Regions from separate parts of the Homo sapiens genome. Here all the other regions are linked to region 3. The links are contacts of gene promoters, found by promoter capture Hi-C in human tissues and cell types (Jung and others, 2019). All regions are on one chromosome and are shown on one strand. The core of a region is centred on a gene start or on the middle of the fragment in contact, and the rest is flanking DNA. Distances in the headings are between cores, read along the strand shown.

Region 1 (4,475 bases), core at 1,632-4,131, 210 kb after region 3:
AACCATAAGCTAAGAAGGTTTGGACTCAGGCGTCTGGAAAGTTGGTCACCACCTCTACCCCACCTCATATCTGAATGTCAAGAGACACGTAGAGGCAGAGAAGTTAAAGCAACTTTCTAGAGACAGAAATGACCACTGATCAAGCCACAATGCACTCTGGTTTAAATGACATTTAGGTCATGACTGTCCTTAATCTAAAACAAACCTAGATTAGTATTTCTTTTCATTAGTAAATAGCTAAATTCTGATGGTAAATTATGCTGACCAAAAACAGTTCCTCACTTCCCAAGTTAGACATAGCAATTAGAAAAATAATCTAAGCAAGCTCCATTTGTATTTCTTTTTTCACCTGTTTATTGAATATTTACCTCCCATGAAGTCTTTCAGCCTATTGGTGGTATTTTACTGTTCAGATATATGTTAGAATTTCACTGATACTTACTGGGCGCGGTGGCTCACACCTGTAATCCCAGCACTTTGGGAGATAGAGGTGGGCAAATCACAAGGTCAGGAGTTCAAGACCAGCCTGGCCAATATGGTAAAACCCCGGTCTCTACTAAAAATACAAAAATTAGCTGGGCGTGGTGGCGCACGCCTGTAGTCCCAGCTACTTGGGAGGCTGAGGCAGGAGAATCGCTTGAACCCAGGAGGCAGAGGTTGCAGTGAGCCAAGATTGCGCCACTGCACTCTAGCCTGGGCAACAGAGCAAGACTCTGACTCAAAAAAAAAAAAAAAAAGAATTTCACTGATACTTTTCACAAAATATACAGAAGGAGGCACAAATTCCACCACTATGGCACTCTGCTGCGTTGGCCAAGTGTCTTGATCCTTTGGCCTCAATTTTCTTATCTACGATATTAGGGTAATTGTTATGTGAACTACCCACCTCACAAGTCCTTTGTGGGTTAATTCATAACTGTGCTGTGGGTATTTCTTTTTCTTTCCTTTCTTCCTCCTTTCCTTTCTTTCTTTCTTAAAGATGGGTTCTCATTATGGTGCTTAGACTAGACTCTAGACCCAATTCCTGGCCTCTCACCATGTTGCCCAGACCAGACTCAACTCCTGGACTCAAGGAATCCTCCCACCTCAGCCTTCAATTAGCTGGGATCAGAGGTGTGCACCACCATGCCTGGCACTGTGGATATTTCTAAGTGATTATTCTTCTCAAATGAACTACATAAAAAACAAAAGATTCATGAATTTACTAATGGTTCTTTGTGATGGATGTGCTAATATAGAGACTAAAATCAAGGCTCCAACCTCTAAAACATTTTTTTTTAAATTCCAGACTTGTTTCCCCATCCCACTGTGCAAACTGAACAAAAACTGGGCTAGCACTCCTGTCTGGAACATGTAATAAGGAAATAAATGTGCTGACTCAGAGAACACAGACATATTTAATATAAAATAAGATAGAAAACTGGCTGAACCAAGTCATAACACAGTCTAAATCCACATATAAAAGATTGAGATGATTTTCTGCTTTGCTTTATTCAAGCCCAATGCTTTATCAGCACAGCCAGCCAAAAATTTACAACCCATACACAGACTATGTAAACCTTTAGTTGCACATACAGTAAGACCAGCAGGTACACACTATACACATTTTTAATTAAAAAAATGACTAACCACTGATTTTGTCACCACACTTAACAACGACCTGATATGGCACAGAGTGATGTGTACCAAACATGGAAATACCAACTTGGGCGACGGTTTGAATCTTGTTAACTTCAGTGCAACCACACCCCCCAAATGCATGTAAAGTTTGCACACATGGTTTTTTCAAGGCCAGCCTGTCTTTGTTTCCCTCTCCTCTGCATTTACCCAAGATCTTGGCTCTGAGACAGAAAACTCCCACTCTCAATTGGTTCATTCCGTCCTATGCAATTAAGCAACACCACAATCCAGTAAATGCAATGGCTCAATTATTTATCTTCTGGCCGACTTTACCAGGTATTTGGAAAAGGACAATGTCAAGAGGTTTATTTCTCTCTCTAGAGCTGGCTTGACGGGTTGATGGGGATTTTATTTTGTCTTTTTTTCTCTTTTTTACAAGGCGGGGACGTGGGGGGAGCATAATTTAACCTAGAAAAAGATGCGAGGGAATTTAGAAAGAGTACCGGTCTGTCAATTTCCCTACAGGAAACTTGATTCTTATGCAATAAAGCCTACCCACGACCAGCCAGCCCGTAAGGCTGCAGGCGACAGACACACCTATTCCTGCCTCCAAAAGGGCACAGCTGTCTCCTGAAGGAGCGGGAACAGGGCAAGCGGAGGAAGTGGCTCAGCGGGAGCCGCCGACCGGGCGGGGAGGAGGCGCTTTCCGACCCCCCACTCGCGCCGGTGATCCCCGTCGGCGTGACAGTCGCTCCGGTGGCCGGAACGTCCCCAGGGCCCCAGGGAGCAGGAAATCGGGGGACTGTCCCTCACTCCTGCCGCCGCAACCGAGTGCGCCCTCGCCCCACGGTGCCCCCTCGAGCGCGTTCTGTTTCTCCGAAGAACGAAACTTCCCTCCAGCGCCCCGAGTCCCTTCCGAGGCCCGCTCCTGTCATCCCGAAGAGTCTTCCCTCAGGGCGACCCTCCGCGTCTCTTCATCTCTCCCGGCCCCACTGCAGCGTCCATCACAACATCCCCAAGGTCCCAGAGGCCCCCTGCCGCTGCGGAGCCCCCGGGTCCCCAGGCCTCCCCAACGGCCCCACCCTGCACCCCCTTCACCTGTTTCTCCGGCAGAGGCCGAGAGGCCGGGGCTGCGCGTGTGCCGGGGACGGGCGGCGAGGCTCCCTCAGGCCGAAGGGCCTCTCCGAGCCGAGGGGGAGAGACAGCGCCAAGCCGGGGTGCCTGTCCAGGATCCGGTTGGGGCTTGTTCCCTCGGCTGCGACGTCGGAACCCCCGGCTCCCCCTCCCAGTCTGCGCCGCCGCAGCTCCGGAAACCGCTGAATTACAGCCCCTTCAGCCAATCCTCGCCCAGCCCCAGCCTGGCCGAGGCACGCCGTCATGCATAATTCATGAAAGGCCAGCTCGTTCGGCCACCCAGAGGTCCCAGTGCGTGTGCGGTACAGCCGAAGCCCCGCCCACTGACCAATGAGGAGAGCAGCTAGGAGAAAGGGCGGAGCCAAGAGGAGACTGATACGCCCCTGTGCTGGCTGTTCCGACAGTTCGGTGCTCCTCCCTCCGCCACAGCGAGGGAAGAGCCGAGGACTTGGGCACAGAAGCCCGGGGGGAGGGAGGGAAGATGACCGGAATGTCCTGCTGAAAACTCAGCTGAGTTCCTGGCAGTGCGTGACGTCAAGGCACTTTAAATGCCCCTGATACAGCTCCCTCCTGCCCGCTCTCCCTTTTCCCGGCCCTTGGCACCACGTGGTGGCGAGGTTGAGAGCCTCTTACCACGCGGGAATCAGCTAGTTAGATAGTCCCCAGGTATCTCCAGATCCTCTGGGGACCCAACTCCTGAATTGGGTTCTGGGGACAACAAAAAGAACATGGGTGACTCCGCCTGCTTTGAACTTCAGTTTCTGCGTGAGCAGGGACACACACACCCGGAAACATGACGTGGAAATAGAGTAATTACTAGAGTGCGTGGGGAGAGGGTAGTGGATTTAACCCCGTACTCCGTTCCATCACTTCAAGCATCAAACGCCGACCAGCTAGCCCATTGGCCCGTACAGGCGAATGCAGAAGACGGTGTATACGAAAGCTGATAACGTGTAGGGCTTGACATTTTTATGCGTCTGAATTGAAATACATGAAATGTTCTGCCTTTTTCTTTTCCACCTTGCCTACTTGGTATGCAAGTTTTACTGAATTGAAGCCAGTGGTTGATAGGAAATGTAGACATTTTGCCTTTCATAATAGAGGATGAACTTTGCATAATGGAGTGATTTCTGTGTATGTGCTGATACTATCAGGGTTTTTAATTTTTATTTTTTTGGGTCTTTAAAAATATGTTATTAATATTTGTGTTTGTTTAATACGAACAGGTATAAAGACAAAAATCTAAAAAGGACCCATTATCTCACTGCTCAGCTAACCCCTGACATATTTTTTTTCAATGAACCTAATACATGTTCCTGTTTAGAAAATGCAGACCGTTCAGAAAGGTCAAAAATATTAAATGAAAATCTTTCCCTACCCCCATCATTCCTTCTCCCCAAGGATAGCTGTTCTTATTAATTTCTAGTGAGAAAAATCAATGACTCTTAACCTTTGAAGGCAGTCACAGATCCTTCTGAGTGTTTGAAGGAGACTAGATTCTAGCCCCAGAAACAATACAAGGTTTTACTCACATGGTTCCCCAGATACCTGAAGCCTGTCTAAGTCTACAGATTCAGACCGCTCGTACCACCTCATATCCAATGAGGGACAGAGGCATCTACAGGGCAATTCATAGGGTCACTGGTGGTGAGAATTGAGAACCTCCTATTGCCCTCTGGTAGACACAGCTCAGTATGGAAATTGCTGTATTTACCTGTAGA
Region 2 (4,516 bases), core at 1-2,500, 160 kb after region 3:
TTCCATTCAGATCTTGCATGTCTGCGAAGGAAGAAAAAACTCCTTGACCTGAGGGAATACTCCTTGACCTGAGGGAATACTCCTTGACCTGAGGGAATACTCCTGGACCTGAGGGAATACTCCTGGACCTGAGGGAATACTCCTGGACCTGAGGGAATACTCCTTGACCTGAGGGAATACTCCTGGACCTGAGGGAATACTCCTGGACCTGAGGGAATACTCCTGGACCTGAGGGAATACTCCTGGACCTGAGGGAATACTCCTGGACCTGAGGGAATACTCCTGGACCTGAGGGAATACTCCTGGACCTGAGGGAATACTCCTGGACCTGAGGGAATACTCCTTGACCTGAGGGAATACTCCTGGACCTGAGGGAATACTCCTGGACCTGAGGGAATACTCCTGGACCTGAGGGAATACTCCTTGACCTGAGGGAATACTCCTGGACCTGAGGGAATACTCCTGGACCTGAGGGAATACTCCTGGACCTGAGGGAATACTCCTGGACCTGAGGGAATACTCCTGGACCTGAGGGAATACTCCTTGACCTGAGGGAATACTCCTGGACCTGAGGGAATACTCCTGGACCTGAGGGAATACTCCTGGACCTGAGGGAATACTCCTGGACCTGAGGGAATACTCCTGGACCTGAGGGAATACTCCTTGACCTGAGGGAATACTCCTTGACCTGAGGGAATACTCCTGGACCTGAGGGAATACTCCTGGACCTGAGGGAATACTCCTGTCCTTAATGACCAGGCTCCTTTGAGGACCCGTACCTCCCTTGCGCCCCGCCCGCCTTAAGATCTAAACAGAGTTAAGACAAATGAGTCTTTCAACTCAACAACACAAACTCACTTTCTAGAGATTTTAACATCTCTAATATTCACTTGCCTCCTTGACTCTTGAGGGTTTTATAGTTGAAATCAAAGTCATCCTGGAGATTCTCTACCACTTTCATTTTCTGTTCTAGATCCTGTTTAAAATAAGCAAACAAAAAAACAGAAGTAAAGAAAGATTTCCTTGGGAACAGAAAATATAAAGTTTCTGAGGAGAATTCAAATGAAGCCAAAACCTCAAAAAAGATACATGCAGGACCTGCAGGCAGTATCCCCAAGAGAAGGCTCCCTGTTGGCCAGGTGCAGTGGCTCACGCCTGTAATGCCAGCACTTTGAGAGGCTGAGTTGGGAGGATCACTTGAGCCCAGGAGTTCATGATCAGCCTGGACAACACAGGGAGACCCCCATCTCTACAAATTTTTTTTTTTTAATTAGCTGGGCGTGGTGGTGCATGCCTGTGGTCCCGGCTACTTGGGAGGATGAGGTAGGAGGATCGCTTGGGCCTGAGAGGTCGAGGCTGCAGTGAGCTGTGATCATGCCACTGCAGCCCAGCCTGAGTGGCAGAGCAAGACCCTGTCTCAAAAAAAAAAAAAAAAATTAATGAAAGCTCCCTGCCCGAGGCTTGTAACTTGCATCACCTGCACTCTCTTCCGGACATCCTGAAGGTGCTGCTCCAGCATCTGCTGCTTCTCCGTCACCACGGCTGCTGTGGGGTGGTTGGCCTGGCCCCCTTGCTGCCAAAAAGGAGGTCAATGCACATGTGAACACAGAACTATGGGGAGAGGAATACCTCTACCCAGCTTCCATCCCACCCTAACTACCCTTCTTGTTTGGCTTGAGACGCTGCTGCCATCACAAGAGGAAGGGAAACAGAGGCAGTGGTGCTGTCACTACACAGGTGACACTACACAGGTCATACCATAAACCCCCTTTATGGCACTAAGAGACCACATGTTCAGCTAAGACATGGTCTATGCCTTCAAAAACCTCATGGGCAAGTATGTCAAAAAATTCAAAACAATTTATGACAGCAGATGTTGGATGTCTACTTAAACGTGGTGTCCAGTATATTTCTGAGGGATAATAAAAAAAAAGTCCTGCCCTAGGGATGAAATTCCATATTAAAAGATATTATCTTGGGGAGAAGGGGAGGCTGGTACCTTGGAAAATGTCAAATAGCACATGGAAAAAGAAAAAGAAGAAAGAAGGCTGGATGTAGCAGCTCACACCTATAATATCAGCACTTGGGAAGGCTGAAGTGGGAGGACTGCTTGAGGCCAGGAGTTCAAAACTAGCCTAGTCAACATAGTGAGGCCCCATCTCGAATGAATAAATGAATGAATGAATTAAAGAAATAACAAAAAATAAATAGCATATGAAACTTAAAAATTACAGGTTCGTGCCAGGTGCGGTGGCTGATGCCTGTAATCCCAGCACTTTGGGAGGCCAAGGTGGGCAGATTACCTGAGGTCAGGAGTTTGAGACCAGCCTGACCGACACGGAGAAACCCATCTCTACTAAAAATACAAAGTTAGCTGAGCTTGGTGGTGCATGCCTGTAATCCCAGCTACTCGGGAGGCTGAGGAAGGAGAATCGCCTGAACCCGGGAGGTGGAGGTTGTGGTGAGCCAAGACTGCGCCATGCACTCCAGCCTGAGCAACAAAAGTGAAACTCCATCTCAAAAAAAAAAAAAAAAAATTACAGGCTTGGGCTAGGCATGGTAGCTCCCACCTATAATCCTAGCACTTTGGGAAACCAAGGCAGGAGGATCACTTGAGGCTGGGAGTTTGAGACCGGCCCAGGGAACATAGAAAGAGACCTCATCTCAACCAAAAAAAAAAAAAAATTTTTTTTTAACTAGCTGGGCATGGTGGCATATACCTGTAGTTCTAGCTACTTGGGAGGCTGAGGTGGGAGGATCATTTAAGTCCAGAAGTTTGAGGCCACACTACAGCCAGTTTTATGGGCAACCATTCTCTTCCTTTCCCATGGTCCCTATCCAAGCCCACAGAATACAAACTTCTTAGAAGTTTTGGGAAGGTGACCCATGCCCCTACTTCTTCCCACAGTGACAGTGACTCATCTGATTGGTAAGATGGAGAGAAAGACTCTGTGTACACACAGATCTTCAAAGAACCCAGCACCTAAGCTGGTGCCTCCCTCCTCTCACTCTTGCCTTCCTAGGGCCCACCATAAGCAAGAGCAGCAGCCTGGTTTCTAGAAGCAGGTCTAGAGGCCTATCCCTCTGCCTTGTTGGTCTATGGCAGCTGAAGCTCCATATGGATGGCTGGGGTGGGGTGGGGGTGCTGCTCTGCACATCCAGTCTCTCTACCCCAAGATCTAACTCAGGGCACAGGCATTGGAAAGCCCCTATGGTTACCAGCTCAAGCCACACTTTCCATTCTAGTTTTACCAACAATACAGCTGATGTTTTAACCTTCATTCCTTTCTCATGTCTATTTCTCAAGCAGGACTACACTTAAAGGGAGAAAACATGATTAACGATCACCCACAGAAACCCACCTCTAATACCTTCGTAAAAAACTGTATTGGCTCCCCACTGCTTCCAGCTATAAACATCTCAGGCCAACACAGAAAGCTGTTTCACACAATTGATAACTTCAACTTTCCCTCCCTGTGCCTTGGTCACCCCAGACTCCCAACTCTTCCCTGCATGCAGTGTGTTTCCACACTCTCTTCCCACCCGCTATCCACTCAGCATGGCCTGGGCTTCAGCCCAAACACACCTGAACTCACTCACCTTCAAATTCAGTTCAAATGTTTCTTTTCCTGAGAAATCTTATTCAACTTCCTTAGACAAAATGACACACATCCTTTTCTGTGTTTTTCTCACTTTGAGTGTTTGTGTACTTATAATCCCAACTAGCCTGACAGCCCTTGGTAGCAGGGATTACATCCACTCTTCTATCTTTAACCAATTCTAGACACTTAAGAGCATGCCAGGTATTGTAAACAGAAAAAATAGCAGTGAGGCCTGGGTTGAGGCCACAAATAACCAACTTATAGCTTTATATCAGGGGTTGCAAACTTTTTCTCTAAGGGACAGAGGGTAAATATTTTTGGTTTCCTGGGTCATACAGTCCCTGCCACAAATAGCCCTGCCACTGCAGCACCAAAGCAGCCACAGATAATGCATAAATAAATGAGTGTGGCTGGGTTCCGAAAAAACCTCATTTACAAAAACAAGCAGCAGGCTGGATTTGGGCCACGCTCACAGTTTGCAGACCCCTAATCCGTACGATTGAAAACATCCTTGGGATAACTTTGGCTTTCCTACCTCCCATGGTAAGTTGGAGCCTCTATCCAAATTGACTTAAACCACTTATTTTTATCTTGTGGAGCAGGATAAAATACAAAGGTTTTCCACAGCAGAAAATCCTAGTGCTGCCTGAGCAAATGCCTGTGTGCTAACCTCTTGGGCTACAGGGCACTGCACAGTAAGTGTTACCTACCACCTCGCTCACACCTGAGCATATCAGTTTTCTGCTTAAAATTCCTCACTAGGGCCGGACACAGTGGCTTATGCCTGTAATCCCAGCACTTTGGGAGGCCGAGGTGGATGGATCACCTGAGGTCAGGAGTTTGAGACCAGCCTGGCCAATATGGTGAAACCCTATCTCACTAAAAATACAAAAAATTAGCCCAGTGTGGTGGCT
Region 3 (4,689 bases), core at 393-2,892:
TGGGGAGAACAAGTCCTAGCACATGGTAAGTGCTACTCTGAGAAGGTGAAATTTTTTCCCCACATTCACTTGGCTTTCTTCCTATTACAGAGTAAGCAGGGCAGAGATTCTGATGACACCACACCCATTTATTGATAGGAAACCAAAAGGCAGAGATTATCCAAACTCACAGATCTCCTTAGTGTGGGGGCAGACAGTGATGAGTGCTGTCTTCCTTCCCTGCCTTCCAGAGAAGGTCCACTTTTTAGCATTCTTGTAGCTGCTTTCAGGGGATCTGCCCCACTGCTCAAAGTCTAATGGGAGAGGGCATTGAGCGTATAGCTCCAGCAACCCCCAGCAGCAGAACCCGAGCTGTCTCCCTCCAGCTCCAATGGGTGGGAGGCCAGGGGGACTCCTGTGGGCCATCCAGGGACAGAGACTCAGCTAAGAGATGGGGCCTGTGACACAACCAGTCCTGGTGCTCTAGGAGGGATGACTGTCTGGGGGCAGGGAGGCTGATGGGGACACTGAAGGTGCCTGGGAGGCACTGGGCTCTGGGCACAGCCTCCTTCTTCCATCCCAGGGCCTGTTGCCCCGGTGATGGGCGCTATGGAAACAAGGTGGTGGGGAAGAGGGTAGGGCCCGGCGGCTCAGTTTCCGCCCTCGGGTACCGCTCCCCCACCATCCAGATCCCGGCCAGGGTTCCCGAGGGAATGGCGGGGTTGGGGGAGGTGAGGGCGGGGAATCTCTGGGTTCCAGAGTGGGAAGAGGGAATGGCGGGAGAAGAGGCGGGGGAGGAGTGATGTGGCTGTCCAAGGTGCTGAACCTGAAACCCAAGCTACGTTGGGCGAGCTGGGAGTTCCCACCGTCGCACAGACCGCTCCCCTCCTCCTGCCTCACCCACCTTAGACACTGACGCCCCACGATTTGGGGGCGCGCGACCTCAATCCAAACTAGGTCCTGCTGAAGTCTGATCTTTTCTCCTTTTTTTCTGGAGGTAGTGGGAGCTGGAGTCTGTGAGTAGACCCCAGAATGCCCGGCCACTTTGCCCCACTTCTGTGTCTCGGATACCCCCATACACGCCCCCAGCACAGCTCTGCCCGAGAGTGGGCGGCTCCGAAGGACCCTCCTCCGCTCTGCCGCACAAAGAGCCTCTTCTGCCTCGAGTCACACCCCCTAACCTTGGCCCCCGTGCTCTCGGCCCTTTCCCCTCCTCCCCTCGCAGGGCACTCCCCGCCCTGTTCCTGCACCGCGGCTTTGGGAGTTCCTAGACCCGCACCTCCATTCTCTCCCCTCGCCTCGGGTCTCACCATGTCCAGGAGATCCGAGACGGCCCCGAGGATACTTGCCCCCCAGCTCGAACCTCAAGCCCCGACCTCCGTCCCACTCACGCGTTCCGTCAAAACGGGTGGCGATGGTGTCCAGGAAGGTGTTTTGCGGGGCCAGCAACCCCTTCATGACCGGCATGGCCCCGGGGCGTGGGTTCAAGGCGCGGCGCTGGGGAGCTTTCAGCGCGGCCGGGCCGGAGGGGGCGCGCTGTCGGAGGGGCCGGGGCGCCCCATGCGCCCTCCTGCCTCCTCCCCTCCCTCTTACTGCCGCTGCCGCTGCCGCTGCCTCTGCTCCGAACCCCGTAGCTCTCGGCTCGGCTCAGCGCCGTTTCGGTCCCCCCCACCTCCCCACGGGCCAGGTTCTTCCCCTCGGGCTCGGCCCGCACCCGCCACGTGGCCCCACACGGGGAGGGGCCGCTAGCGACACCCGCACCCCTCTGGGCAGCCCTCCTCCCAGAGGGGAGCGGCCCACGCGTGTCTCTCGGGGAGAGAATTCGGGGCACGCCCACCGGGAGGGGAGGCCTGAAATGATGGGCGGGGCTTGAATAACAGACCCGCCCTCTTCCAGGCTGGCCACGCCTCCACACGTGGTTCCCTGGCTGCTCCTTGTGGCTCCACCTCGCGGGTTTTCCCGCGCGGCGTCCACGCTGGGCTGGTGTCTGGTTCACAGTGCCGCCTACTGGAGTTGACATATTTCGCAGCACCCACAGGCCAGTAGCTCCAGCGTGAGACAGCAAGGGTTAAGAGGCTAGTTTGCTGGTAGAGAATGGACAATGGGAAGGCTTGAAACCCCAACTCTAGAAAGCACCATTCTTACCTCCTGCCTCAGTTTTCCCAAGACACCCTGGCGAACTCTGCCTACTGAGACACAGCATGGTGGAATGAAAAGAGCTTTGGAGTCCACCAGGTAGAGTCCCAGCTCTAGACACCAATCGTGTGATATCCTCTCCAAGCCCACTTTCCTCATCTGTAAAATGGAGCTGATAATTCTTACCTGATGCAGTTACCGTGAGAATGTAATACCATAATGCATGTCTTTGGTACAAAATAAGTGTCTTGAAGGGCAGTTGCCTGCCTGTTTTCCCTCTTCCTACTGTCTTAATCCTCCTCTCTGCTGCCCTTCAAGTGGAAGAGAGGCTGGAGGCAAGTTTGGGAGAAACTACCTCTGAAAAAGATAGTTTCGAGGTGGGCAGAGTCATGGCTTGCAAATCTCCAAGGATGCACATGTGAACTTTGACCTCTAACTTCTCCAAGATGGAACCAGTACAGCAGCAAGAGGGACCAAAGTGAGACTAGACACAGGACTTTCTCACTACCTATGCAGAAAATTGAGGCAGCTGAGTTCTGTGGCTGAGGGTGGCTGCTTCCCACGACAAAACAGCTGAAGCAGTGAAAGTGGGAACCCTATGGGCAAGGAGGGCAGGCTAAATTCTCCCCACCCTCTGAGCTAGGTATTATCTGGGATGTTAGATTGCTAAGAAGTGCCACATTTTTCTGTGTCTCTACTTTTGTTGTTGTTGTTGTTCTTGTTGTTCTTGTTCTTGTTGTTTTTGAGACGGAGTCTTGCTCTGTTGCCCAGGCTGGAGTGCAGTGGCATGACCTCAGCTCACTGCAACCTCTGCCTCCTGGGTTCAAGCAATTCTCCCGCCTCAGCCTCCTTAGTAGCTGGGATCACAGGCGTGCATTACAATGCCCGGCTAATTTTTGTATTTTTAGTAGAGATGGGGTTTCGCCATGTTTGCCAGGCTGGTCTTGAACTCCTGACCTCAAGTGATCCGCCCGCCTCAGCCTCCCAAAGTGCTGGGATTACAGGCATGAGCCACGGAGCCTAGCCTGTGTCTCTACTTTTGGATGTTATATTAGTTTCCTAGGACTGCCATAACAAAGTACCACAAAGTGAGTGGCTCAAACAACAGAAACCTATTGTCTCACAGTTCTGGATGCTAGAAGTCCAAGCAAGGTCAGGTGAAGAGCGTTGGTTCCTTCTGAAGGCTATGAGGGAGAATCTGTTGCATGCCTCTCCCCTATCTTCTGGGGGTGGGGGTGCTGGCAATTTTTGGTGTTCCTTGGCTTGTAGGAGCCAATCTCTACCTTCATGTTCACATGGGTTCTCCCTGTGTGTGTTTCTGTGTTCCAATTCCCTTTTTTATAAGGACGCCAGTCACAGTGGATTAGAGGCCCACCCTACTCTAGTATGACCTCATCTTAACTAATTGCATCTGGAAGGACCTTATTTCCAAATACAGCCACATTCTGAAGTGCCACGGGTACGGACTTCAACATATGGATTTTGGGAACACCAGTAACAGGTGTCTTTGGCTGGAGTTGCAGTAAAATCTTGTACTGCCCCTGCTTAAGAATGTCCCATGACTCTGTTACCTACAAGATAAAGTGCAAAGCCCGATGATTTGTGAGAGCCTTTGCGAGCTGTGCTGCACTGACTGTAACTGTGTCCCTTCCTGAGCCTCTCCACTCCCCACACCCTATACCCCATGATGCAGCCATTCTGGATGACTCATTGTTGAAGTTCAAATTCCCTGCCTTTTCAGCAGGATTGACTCCCACCCCTTCCTAGCTGGATTCTGCTGCTCTATGCAGCTTGCCTGCCTTCCTTCCTTCCTTCCTTCCTTCCTTCCTTCCTTCCTTCCTTCCTTTCTTTCCTTTCTTTCTTTTCTTTTTTCTTTTTCTTTCTTTTTTTTTTTTTTTTGACAGTGCCTCCTTCTGTTGCCCAGGCTGGAGTGCAGTGGCCCAATTATGGCTCAAACTCAAACTCCTGGGCTCAAGCAATCCTCTCGCCCACCATACCCCGCTAATTAAAAAAACTTTTTGGAGAGATGTCTCACTCACTATGTTGCCTAGGCTCGTCTCGAACTCCTTGCTTCAAGGGATCCTCCTGCTTTGGCCTCCCAAAGTGCTGGGATTACAGGCGTGAGCACCGCGCCCGACCGCTGCAACCTTTCTTGCTTTCCTTCCCCTTCCGCGTCTCTGGGTAAAGTCCCCGCTACAGAATGCCTAGCAGAGCATCGTAGGAGTCCCGCATGGCCCGATCCAAGCATGCACCTGTGCAGTTCTCTCTGTGCCCCAGGGCCTTGCACTGGGAACTCCCCAACCAAGAGTGTTTCCGATTCAACCACGCAAAAGCTAAGGCTGGTGCCCGACAGCCGGGCTTCCAGGCCCAGCTGTCCTCCGCAAGACGCTTTGCCACCCCGGATGGGCAGGACGCGACCGCACAGGAACAGAGACCAGTCACACGAATGGAGACTCGTCTTTATTGCCTTTTTTCTGGGGGCTGACGCTGGGTGGGCAGAGGGCAGAGGCCTGGGCCAGGACAGGGCCCGAAGAACGACTCAGATCCCGGACTGTCCTCCGGGCGCGACGGAGG

The links. The method cuts DNA at HindIII sites, captures the fragments that hold promoters and counts their contacts. A contact is called where the count stands out against the background at its distance.
Region 1: the fragment with the promoter of STAT3 here is called in contact with the fragment with the promoter of KCNH4 in region 3 in 2 of the 25 tissues and cell types used here (heart right ventricle and mesendoderm cells).
Region 2: a contact is called between a fragment that was not itself captured here and the fragment with the promoter of KCNH4 in region 3, in 3 of the 25 tissues and cell types used here (aorta, neural progenitor cells and spleen).

Annotation. Positions count from the first base shown.
Region 1 is chr17:42,385,561-42,390,035 of GRCh38, forward strand. STAT3 (signal transducer and activator of transcription 3) reads right to left here and starts at 2,882. Exons shown (of 24, transcript NM_139276.3): 1 at 2,719-2,882. RefSeq lists silencers at 2,223-2,302, 2,533-2,812 and an enhancer at 3,333-3,602. The HindIII fragment of the contact is 15,490 bases long and covers 1-4,475 here.
Region 2 is chr17:42,337,837-42,342,352 of GRCh38, forward strand. STAT3 (signal transducer and activator of transcription 3) reads right to left here. Exons shown (of 24, transcript NM_139276.3): 5 at 1,478-1,573; 6 at 895-976; 7 at 1-21. Among named protein-coding and RNA genes, the nearest start is that of STAT3, 48 kb to the right of the region's middle. RefSeq lists a silencer at 1-17. The HindIII fragment of the contact is 7,087 bases long and covers 1-4,516 here.
Region 3 is chr17:42,179,500-42,184,188 of GRCh38, forward strand. It overlaps KCNH4 (potassium voltage-gated channel subfamily H member 4), which reads right to left and starts at 1,643. Exons shown (of 17, transcript NM_012285.3): 1 at 1,371-1,643. The coding sequence starts at 1,446. It overlaps HCRT (hypocretin neuropeptide precursor), which reads right to left. Exons shown (of 2, transcript NM_001524.1): 2 at 4,561-4,689. The coding sequence ends at 4,655. RefSeq lists enhancers at 36-603, 4,167-4,226 and silencers at 1,553-1,792, 1,799-2,074, 4,657-4,689. The HindIII fragment of the contact is 13,187 bases long and covers 1-4,689 here.